Regions from separate parts of the Homo sapiens genome. Here region 1 is linked to region 2. The links are contacts of gene promoters, found by promoter capture Hi-C in human tissues and cell types (Jung and others, 2019). All regions are on one chromosome and are shown on one strand. Each heading gives the region's core, a stretch centred on a gene start or on the middle of the fragment in contact. The rest is flanking DNA. Distances are from core to core; before and after follow the strand shown. Region 1 overlaps ABCC8 (ATP binding cassette subfamily C member 8). Region 2 holds the start of KCNJ11 (potassium inwardly rectifying channel subfamily J member 11).

The links. The method cuts DNA at HindIII sites, captures the fragments that hold promoters and counts their contacts. A contact is called where the count stands out against the background at its distance.
Region 1: a fragment that was not itself captured here is called in contact with the fragment with the promoter of KCNJ11 in region 2 in 1 of the 25 tissues and cell types used here (dorsolateral prefrontal cortex).

The regions. Positions count from the first base shown.
Region 1 is chr11:17,445,620-17,450,535 of GRCh38, forward strand. It overlaps ABCC8 (ATP binding cassette subfamily C member 8), which reads right to left. Exons shown (of 39, transcript NM_000352.6): 8 at 2,897-3,052. Among named protein-coding and RNA genes, the nearest start is that of ABCC8, 29 kb to the right of the region's middle. The HindIII fragment of the contact is 7,581 bases long and covers 1-4,916 here.
Region 2 is chr11:17,387,409-17,392,307 of GRCh38, forward strand. It overlaps KCNJ11 (potassium inwardly rectifying channel subfamily J member 11), which reads right to left and starts at 1,251. Exons shown (of 1, transcript NM_000525.4): 1 at 1-1,251. The coding sequence starts at 683. RefSeq lists an enhancer at 1-433 and silencers at 1,642-2,151, 2,232-2,331. The HindIII fragment of the contact is 21,135 bases long and covers 1-4,899 here.

The sequences.
Region 1 (4,916 bases), core at 1,475-3,974, 60 kb after region 2:
CACATGAGTTTCTTTGCCATGGGGCTGGGATTGTATTAACTCCCAGGAGTAACACTGGTTCTTGAGTGCTGGTCAAATCTATAAGTGGTAAAGGTATATACAAACACAGAAAACCAAAGGACACTCCATGATAAATGAGCAAAGGTAAGAAATCAGTAGATATGAAAATCTCTACCCCCAGTGCAAGGGTTAAATTATACAAGGGAGGGGGGCTGGGACAGGGCCAGGCATAGGGCAAGGGCTGTTAATATTAGTTAGCACTATTAGCAACGATGCATGTGCAACAAACCCTGTGAGTACTAGTAACGGTAACCGTGCAGCAGGTTTAGTAGACAAAACCTGATTTCTTTTTTTTTTTTTTTTTTAGACCGAGTCTCGCTCTGTTACCCAGGCTGGAACGCAGTGACACGATCTCAGCTCACCACAGTCTCCGCCTCCTGGGCTCAAGCAATTCTCCTGTCTCAGCCTCCGGAGTAGCTGAGACTACAGGCACACGCCATCATGCCCGGCTAATTTTTGTATTTTTAGTAGAGACGGGGTTTCACCATATTGGTCAGGCTGGTCTCGAACTCCTGACCTCAGGTGAACCATCAGCCTCAGCCTCCCAAAGTGCTGGGATTACAGGAGCGAGCCACCATGCCTGGCCAACAAAATCTTACAAACTGCTTGTTCAAGGGGACACAACAGAAAGTGTCTTGTAGCCTTTTGAATGCTGTGTACATGTTAGGATCCTCCCAGGCTGTGTCTCTCTGCATCAGACCCTCACAGCCCAAAGTGTTAACTAATGAGAGAAGCATGGTCAGAAATCTTCATTTTTCATGTTTCAAAAAAAAAATTGTGTTAGAGATGAGGTCTCTCTATGTTGCCCAGGCTGGACTCGAACTCTTGGGCTCAAGCCATCCTCCTACCTCAGCCTTTTGAGTGGCTGAGACTACAGGCATGAGCCACCACACCCAGCTTAGAAAGTCTTGTGCATAAAAGGTTGGTTGGTAACTAAACTAGATGAGATCTCCAGGCCCTTTTGTAGCTTTTATAGTCATTGATCTGTCTTGGCAGAATGGAGCGGGGGCAGTCTGGGCATGGGTAGGTGGTAATGGGGGATGGCATATATGACTGTTCCCATAAAAAAGAACATCAGATTCCCTGCATCTCATCTTGTCTAGCTGTGTCCCTGTGGGAGCCTCTCCCCTTTTTTTCTTTTAATATTTTTAAACTCTAAGCTTTACAAGTAAGGAGGACCAATACAAATCACTGGAGATGAAGGTTTATGGAATCTTTATCCCAAGAAGCAATGGATTCTGGATTGGTAACACCTCACTCATACCAAACATGTGCAAGGTAGAGGGATCTGATATTTACGAAGTGAAGACTCTGGGGGCCACTCTGCCTGCTGTGTTACTTACATTATCTAACTGAATTGCCATAGCAACTCCAGAGGGTGGGCAGCCTCCCCATTTCATAGATAAAGAAACCAAGGCTCAGAGAGGTTAAGTATTTGAATCAGCCTGTCTCACCCAAGTCACTTTCTGCTACATCAAGCTCTCCCGGTGGAACCTTCCCGCCCTCTGGGAATGGGTCTGGGATTTCGGTTTCTGGCCTGAACACCAGGGTGAAGATTTAGTCCCAGGCATAGGACAGGATCAGACTCTGTGGTGGAAGAGCTCCGGGTGGGAGATGGGACACATGAAGCCCGAGGTCAGATCAATCATGCTGACGATTCTCCTCTGATTATTGGGGGGTAATGTACCTCTTCCTGAGCCAGCACCAAAGGTTGTCTTGCTTTAAAAAAATACCATGTTTTAACGTTTTTATTTTTATTTTTTAAGAGACAGGAGTCTCTCTGTTGTCCAGGCTGAAGTGCAGGGGCGTGATCATTGCTCACTGCAGCCTTGAACTCCTGGGGTCAAGCAATCCTTCCATCTCAGACTCCCAGGTAGCTGGGACTAAAGGGGCGCACCACCACATCTGGCTAAAAAACACCAGGTTTTGTTTGTTTTTGAGACAAGGTGTCACTCTATCGCCCAGGCTGGAGTGCAGTGGTGTGATTGTAGCTCACTGCAACCTCTGCCTCCTGGACTTTAGGTAATCTTCCCACCTCAGCCTCTGAGTAGCTGGGGCTATAGTTGTGAGCCACCACTTCCAGCTAATTTTTTGTACAGACAGGGTCTCACTTTGTTGCCTAGGCTAAAAGTATCATGTTGTTGATTTCCAAATCTTATACACGCTTATTAGAGAATTTAGAAACACATAAAGAAAATAAAAATCACTTATAATCCCACTATGTGATTTTCCAATTCTTTTTCATGTGTGAATCTGTACAAATGTATACATAACATATATTCCAGTTTAGTAGTAAGCATACAACATATACTATTTGTAACTTACTCTTTTTGCTTAAAAATACATCACTAACACTTTTTGATGTAATTAAATATTTTGCTACAACATAGCTTTTAAGATCTGTGGGCATTCCATGTACGATTTTTCTTTTCTTTCTTCTTTTTTTTTTCTGCATAGAAGGGGTCTCACTGTGTTGCCCAGGCCAGTCTTGAACTCCTGTGCTCATGTAATCTTCCTGCCTCAGCCTCCCAAAGTGCTGGGATTACAGGTGTGAGCCCCTGAACCTGGCTTGATTTTTCTATAGTTTATAAAGTTGGCTCCATTTTTAAAGTCTTAATGATACTGCCTTCTCTGGTCATTAAGAGAGATGGTCAGTGCTTGCAGAGTATGGGACAGGAGGGACCCAGAGGTACAGCCTGTGGTATAGCCAAGTGTGTGAAAGGTACAGGCAAGCATGGAGTGGAAGACGGTGTGCTCCTAGTTACTGGCCATGGACCAGCAGATTCTGGTTGTGTGTCCTGCTGCCCCCCTCCCTTCCCCTCAGCCCATCTAGTACCTGTACTGGCATAGCCCAGAGGTTTGGGCACAAGAAGAAAAACCACATGAGCTGATTGGTGTCGATGGCAACCAGATTACAGATCTGTCCAGCAGTCATTTCTCCCATGGACAGGTTGGAGGTGGACAGGTGCATAATTTTATTGTAAATCTTGGTCTAGAAATGAGAGCAGAGTGTTTCACATTCATCATCATTCTCATCATCATCACCACACCAGATGCCACCTGTTACAGTGTGCCAGGGGCTTCTCAGACAGTCCCCATGGTGCCCTAGAGCAGCTCTGTAAGGTGGTACTGTATCACCGTTCCAACTTACTAGTCTACTCCAGCACAGCAAGCTACTTCTCCAGCAAGTAAGGCCTTTTCCTGTAGACAGGACTTAATTGGTTCTTTATTTTTATTTAATTTAATTCATTTACTTATTTATTTAGAGACAGAGTCTCGCTCTGCTTCCCAGGCTGGAGTGAAGTGGCATGATCTCAGCTCACTGCAGCCTCCACCTTCCGGGTTCAAGCAATTCTCATGCCTCAGCCTCCGGAGTAGCTGGAATTATAGGCACGTGCCTACCATGCCCAGCTAATTTTTATATTTTTAGCAGAGATGGGGTTTTGCCATGTTGGCCAGGCTGGTCTCAAACTCCTGACCTCAGGAGATCCATCCACCTCGGCCTCCAAATGCTGAGATTACAGGCATGAGCCACCGCACCCGGTCTGTTCTTTATTTTTTAAAGCAGATCTTCATGTCCACTTGTATTCTTGATTTACCAGAGGCCAGTGGAGAACACAGATCAGAGCCATAAAAATGATGAAGTGGGGCAGGCCATCTGTTTTAAAGTGGCCTTCTCCAGCCTAGGGAGGGGATCTGCTCTGAGACCAAGTCCTGTCATAATTGAGCCTTGAAACAAAACAAGGGTTCGACTTTGGAAGGTCTGATGTGTTACACGACCGCGTGAGTCAGTCAGCCCCAGCACCATCCCCAGAGTGCAGCCACCCCAAGGACCCTCACAGGGCAGACAGAGAGCAGCCATGGTAATGGCCTCCCCGAGCTCTGAACCTAAACGCTTTATGTGCAGAGTGATCATGACTCGCAGAAAGACTGCAATTTTTGGATGTGTGCTCTTGAACAAGGAAAAATGCATCCGGGTCTTAAATGTCCTCAGGATGCCTGCTCTTGGATAAAATTCTATTATTCATTCTGTTGTAAGGTGGGCTCCCCGCCCTTAATTCCTCTTTTGTGTAAACCCAGGCTTTTTTGTGGGTCAGGTTTTCTTAAGGCAGGAACCTATTCTATGTCTTTCTGTGAGCTAATATACACCATGGGCAAGGTTTAAAATAATGAACCTATTCTGTCTTTCTGTAAGTTTATATATACCATGGGTAAGGTTTAAAATAATGGCAATGACATTTTTAAAGAAATCTATATACCTCCTAGGTTATGTGAAATGAGACTTCAAAAGATAATCACCTAGTTTCAGTGAAGTAGGGACACCAAGTGATCTGTGAAATAAAGTCTTATTAAGTGAAGACCAGCATACACAGAAATGCACAACTGACTGACAGCTAGTAATTATGTATAATTCAGGAATTGTGCTTAATAACTTTTTATGCACAAAGCGTGGTTATTCTCTAACCCATGAAGACACAGGCTCTCATCCGTAAGGGTACATTTTCCGGAAATCTCCAAAAGAAAGAAAGAAAGGGTTTTTTTCTCCCTAACTCCTTTCTTTTCTTTTTCTTTCTTTCTTTCTCTTTCTTTCTTTCTTTCTTTCTTTCTTTCTTTCTTTCTTTCTTTCTTTCTTTCTTTCTTTCTTTCTCTCTCTCTCTTTCCTTTCTTTCTTTCTTTCCTTCCTTTCCTTTCCTTTCTTTCCTTTCCTTTCCTTCTTTCTTTCCTTTTTTTTTTTTTCAGAGTCTTGCTGTGTCGCCCAGGCTGGAGTGCGGTGGTGCCATCTCGGCTCACTGCAAGCTCCTCCTCCTGGGTTCACGCCATTCTCCTGCCTCAGCCTCCCGAGTAGCTGGGACTAC
Region 2 (4,899 bases), core at 1-2,500:
CCCTCGGGGCTGGTGGTCTTGCGTACCACCTGCATGTGGATGGTGGCGCTGATGATCATGCTCTTGCGGAGGTCACCCACACGTAGCATGAAGCAGAGGCGGCCGTGGCGCAGGGCGATCACCGCATGCTTGCTGAAGATGAGGGTCTCAGCCCTGCGGTGGGCTTGGGCAGTCTTCATGAAGATGCAGCCAAGCATGATGGCGTTGATCATGAGCCCCACGATGTTCTGCACGATGAGGATCAGGATGGCCAGTGGGCACTCCTCAGTCACCATGCGCCCCCCAAAGCCAATAGTCACTTGGACCTCAATGGAGAAAAGGAAGGCAGACGAGAAGGAGTGGATGCTGGTGACACAGGGCTCAGCAGTGCCCTCGCTGGGGGCCAGGTCACCGTGGGCGAAGGCGATGAGCCACCAGGCCATGGCGAAGAGCAGCCAGCTGCACAGGAAGGACATGGTGAAGATGAGCAATGTGTGTGGCCACTTGAGGTCCACCAGCGTGGTGAACACGTCCTGCAGGAAGCGGCCCTGCTCCCGGATGTTCTTGTGGGCCACGTTGCAGTTGCCTTTCTTGGACACAAAGCGGGCCCTCCGCTGGCGGGCACGGTACCTGGGCTTGGCAGGGTCCTCTGCCAGGCGTGTCAGCACGTATTCCTCGGGGATGATGCCCTTGCGGGACAGCATGGCTCCGGTGACCCCCAGGGAGGGGCTTCCCCCATCGGAGGCACCCCTCGGACGTGGCCTAGGGCCTCACTGCAGAGTCCTCTCGGTGGGCACCTTCTCACCCTGGGGCTGCACTCAGCCTGTGCTGGCCTCACTTCTGAGATAACTCCCCACCAGACTCTTCCTTACCTCCACCTGGGTCCCACTTCACTTCTTAATACCAGCCTCAGGCCGGGCGCGGTGGCTCACGCCTGTAATCCCAGTACGTTGGGAGGCTGAGGAGGGCAGATCACTAGGTCAGGAGTTCGAGACCAGCCTGACCAACATGGTGAAACCCCATCTCTACTAAAAATACAAAAGTTAGCCGGGCATGGTGGTGCGCACCTGTAATCCCAGCTACTCAGGAAGCTGAGGCAGGAGAATCGCTTGAACCCGAGAGGCGGAGGTTGCAGTGAGCCAAGATCACGCCACTGCACTCCAGCCTGGGCGACAGAGCGAGACTCCGTCTCAAAAACAAAAAACAAAACAAAAAAAACAGCCTCACCCTTGAGCCCACCTGCCTGGCGCCTAGGGAGCCCCCAACCCTGCCGGCTCTCCACCTGGCCCTGCGTCCTCCCCCAGCTTCCCCCACCAGCTGACCACCCCTGGGCCTCCCGCTAAGAGCCCTTCTCCCCGCCCAGCCTGCCTTCCCAGCCCAGCTCAGAACTTAACACCTCCGGATCTCTCCCACTAACCGGACCTCACCCCCACCTCCGGGTCTCCCGCCTCACCTGTCTGGCCTTCGGGCTCCCAGGCTCCAGCTCAGGTCCTGGCCACCCCCGCCCCGTCTCTCCTCCAGGTGCGCCCCCTATGTCCTACTCCACCCCTCCCGGAGCGCCCCCGCCGCTTTCCGGATCCCCCTCCAGCTCTCGTCCTCTCTGTCTCCTTGGGATCCTGCGTTCTCTGGAGTCACCACCCCACCCGGCTCAACCGCGGCTCCCCGGACCTGCGCGCGACCCGGCGGGGCTGACTCCGAGTCGCGGCCTCCCGGTCCCTGCCGCCCGCCCGCGCCGCGGCTCCCGCTCCGCGCCGGGTCCCGGCCCCGCCCGCCGCCGCCGCTGCACCTGCTCCTGCTCCTCACGCCACGGCCGTCGCCTCCCCGCCCCCTCCCGCCGCCCGGGCGCTCGCGGCTGGCCGTCCTCCCGTCTGTCTGTCCGTCCGTGGGTCCGCGGAGACCGACCTGGGCTAGGCAGGGGTCTAGGACGGCGGGAGGGGGGCGCACGAGGAGAGGAACGGGGCCGGGGACCGCCAGGGGGAGCCCGACCTGCACCGGAGCGCAGGGGGCGGGGCCGGAGCAAGCCCCCGCCCCTCCCGCGCCCCTCCCCGCCCCCGCCCTCCACCTCCCCTCCCGGGACTCACAACCCGGCCTTTGGAGTTTTTCTGATCCGCGGAACCCAGAGGTTCCTCCTGCCCACGCTCTACGAAAGTGGGGGGCTGGGAGGGATCTGTGACCCGCCCTCCCAGTCTGGGGCCGCCGCCCTGTCGCCCTGGCTCCCCTCCCCCAATATCCCCATCCGTATTTGGGTCAGTAATCCGCCTCTCGGCCGCGCCAGGTTTGCAGGTTCCCCGGGAAAGGAGGCGCTGAGAGGCGGCGCCACCAATCCCAGGGCTGGCGGAAATTAGGCGGTCCGAGGACTTCTCAACCTGCAGCTGCTTCTCTTTGGGGGATGCTCTTAATCTTAGTCTTGAATCCTTTGACAATCTGATGGAAGCTCAGACTCCCTCTCATTAAAAAAAAAAAAAAAAAAAAAAAAAAAAAAGGCCTCGGCAGGAAAGGAGCACAGTTTAACACCTGCTACTGCTGTGGGGCAGCCTGGGCGGCTCCATCTTCTCAGCCATTCCGGCCCTACTTTAAAGAAGGTTTGAGCCGAGGCCACTTGCTTTACACTTTCTCACACCTGTCACCTGACTTCTTCCACGTTAGGTCATGGGTGGTATTTAGGCCTGAACAGTGTGTTAGGGCTGCCTCGGGCACTGGGGGACCCAGGCTCTTGGTCCCGGCATGGTGGTGTTTCTGTTCAGGCATCAGCCTGAGGCTGCCCTGTGGCATGGACCCGGGTTCTCAGCTGGGAGGGAAAGCCTGCTAGATCTCTGTTGTTGGAACAGTAACGGCTTTACCGCTGTCTGTGGCTCAGATCCTTATGGAAGAACCCCTGACCATCTGCGGCCATTTTGTTGGAGTGGGGGCTTGAGACAGGGTCTGGAAAAGGCAGTGTGGCTGTGGGCCACAGTGGGGGCAAGATATGCATTTTATATTGGATTTTCCTTTCTCTCCCTACCCACCTGCAGGCAGAGCGAACACCGCTACAAAGGATGGGTGTGATCATGGGCTATATTAACAAAGATGCAGTGTCTAGGAAGGGGAGGGTAAAATGAGATGAGCAGAGTGGGAAGCTCAAGGAGACAGGGTTACATGGGGAAATCTCTGAGGCAACTACAACTGTCCAGCCATCAGAAAAGGAAAGTCCCCCAGGGATTTGGGCACTATTGCAGAAACACCTGGCCTTGAAGGAGGATGAACTAGTAGTTTTTTGTGGCCCAAAGGGTAGAACCAGGACACTAAGTGGAACAGAGGCAGGCTTTGGTTTCACATATGCAAGAGTCAGTTCTAATAACAATAACCAGAGATGAGCCACATCTGTGGGGTACCCAAATCAAGTCGGTGGGCCATGAGGGATGTTATACAGGGATTTTGGGCCAGGATGACCTTGGGCATCCCTGCAACACCTCACTGTGGGCCCAGCCCTGCCCCTGCTACTTCCCTTCAATCTGTTGAGGTGGGGTGGCTTTGGAGCAGTGGTAGGCTTGTGGAGTCCTCTTTCAGTTCCCCGGCTCTGCTCTTGGGAGATCTCACAGTGGAGGAAGCTGCTGGGCCCCTGGGGAAATCTCAGAGCTGGAAAGGCTGGGTTCTGCCTCCTGGTGCAGCCTTGAGGCCTTACCTCCCTCCCTGCTGCTCACCCTTCTGAGAGGCTGAGTCTCCCACCTGAAAGGCTCAGCCTCCCCTTTTGCTCCATCCTGCACTTGCTTATAGTCATCTCCACCAAATACTGAACTTGTCAAGTCGCTTTCTTGCTCAAAACCCTTCTCCCTTTTTGTCCATGGGCATAGCCCACACTCCTTGCTCTGGCATTCAGGGCTCTCTGATATGATGCCCTCCCCACTGCTGTAATCTCTCTCCCACCTCCCTGATCAACCAACACTCTTAACACACTTCCACCATCACTCCTTAGCTCCTGCTGTCCCTACCTGCCACCCCAACCCTTTCTCTGACTTTCTGCCTAACCAATCCCTATCCCCCACAATATTTAACTCAAATTTTGTCTTTTCCAGGCAGGCTGCCAGGCTTTACAGAGCTCTTCCTTTCCGAGCTTCTCTGGCTCCTGGAACATCCACAGGGGTCTGCACTGGACCTGCCTCCGATAACTGGTGGGCTTTTCTTATGTTGTGCCTCTATGATCCCCTTGCAGCCAAGAGGATGCAGGTTCAAGACTCTTAGGTCTGCACCTCAGGGCTTGGTGCAGCCAGTACTGCAGATGATATGCAAATGATCATAAAATGAGATGTAAATGAGCACCTGCCATTTCTTGGCCAAGGGCAGGTGTGCACTCTTGTTTCGTGATGCAGAGGAAGTCAGGACAGCTGCTGTTTTAGTCTCCCTGGTGTCTGGGCTCCAGCGTCTCCCAGACACCACCTGGCTGACCTGTGACTCATGCACTGTGCTTTCCCTCTGAAGGACCACCTTTCCACTTCTGAATGCCCCTGCTTGAGGGATGGAGATGGAGACATGATCCAGGCCTAGCCAGCCAGTGTATGCCACCCCTCTGATCACAGTGGGGTGGGGATGGGAATGTGATCCAAGTTGGTGCATTGAGATTTGCTCCCAAGCTTTTGCTGGAACTATTGGGAAGGAGTATCTGTTTTGCCTCTTGGGTTGCCTTGGGGCAGGATGTAAGCTGGACCTGCTAGTGGCCATCTGTCATAATGAAAGGGGAGGAAAATGGAACCCAGAAAGGAAGACACATCCCAGATGGATGTCAAACACCTGGGTCCAGCCATGCTTGAAGTAGTATACCTCTTAGCCTTGTCAGTCACATATTCAATAAATTCAGTTTCTGCTTAGGTTACTTTGAATTGGGTTCCTGTCATTTGCAATTGAAATAGTGTTAATCCAGATTTTAATTCAAGAATGAAAGTGAGA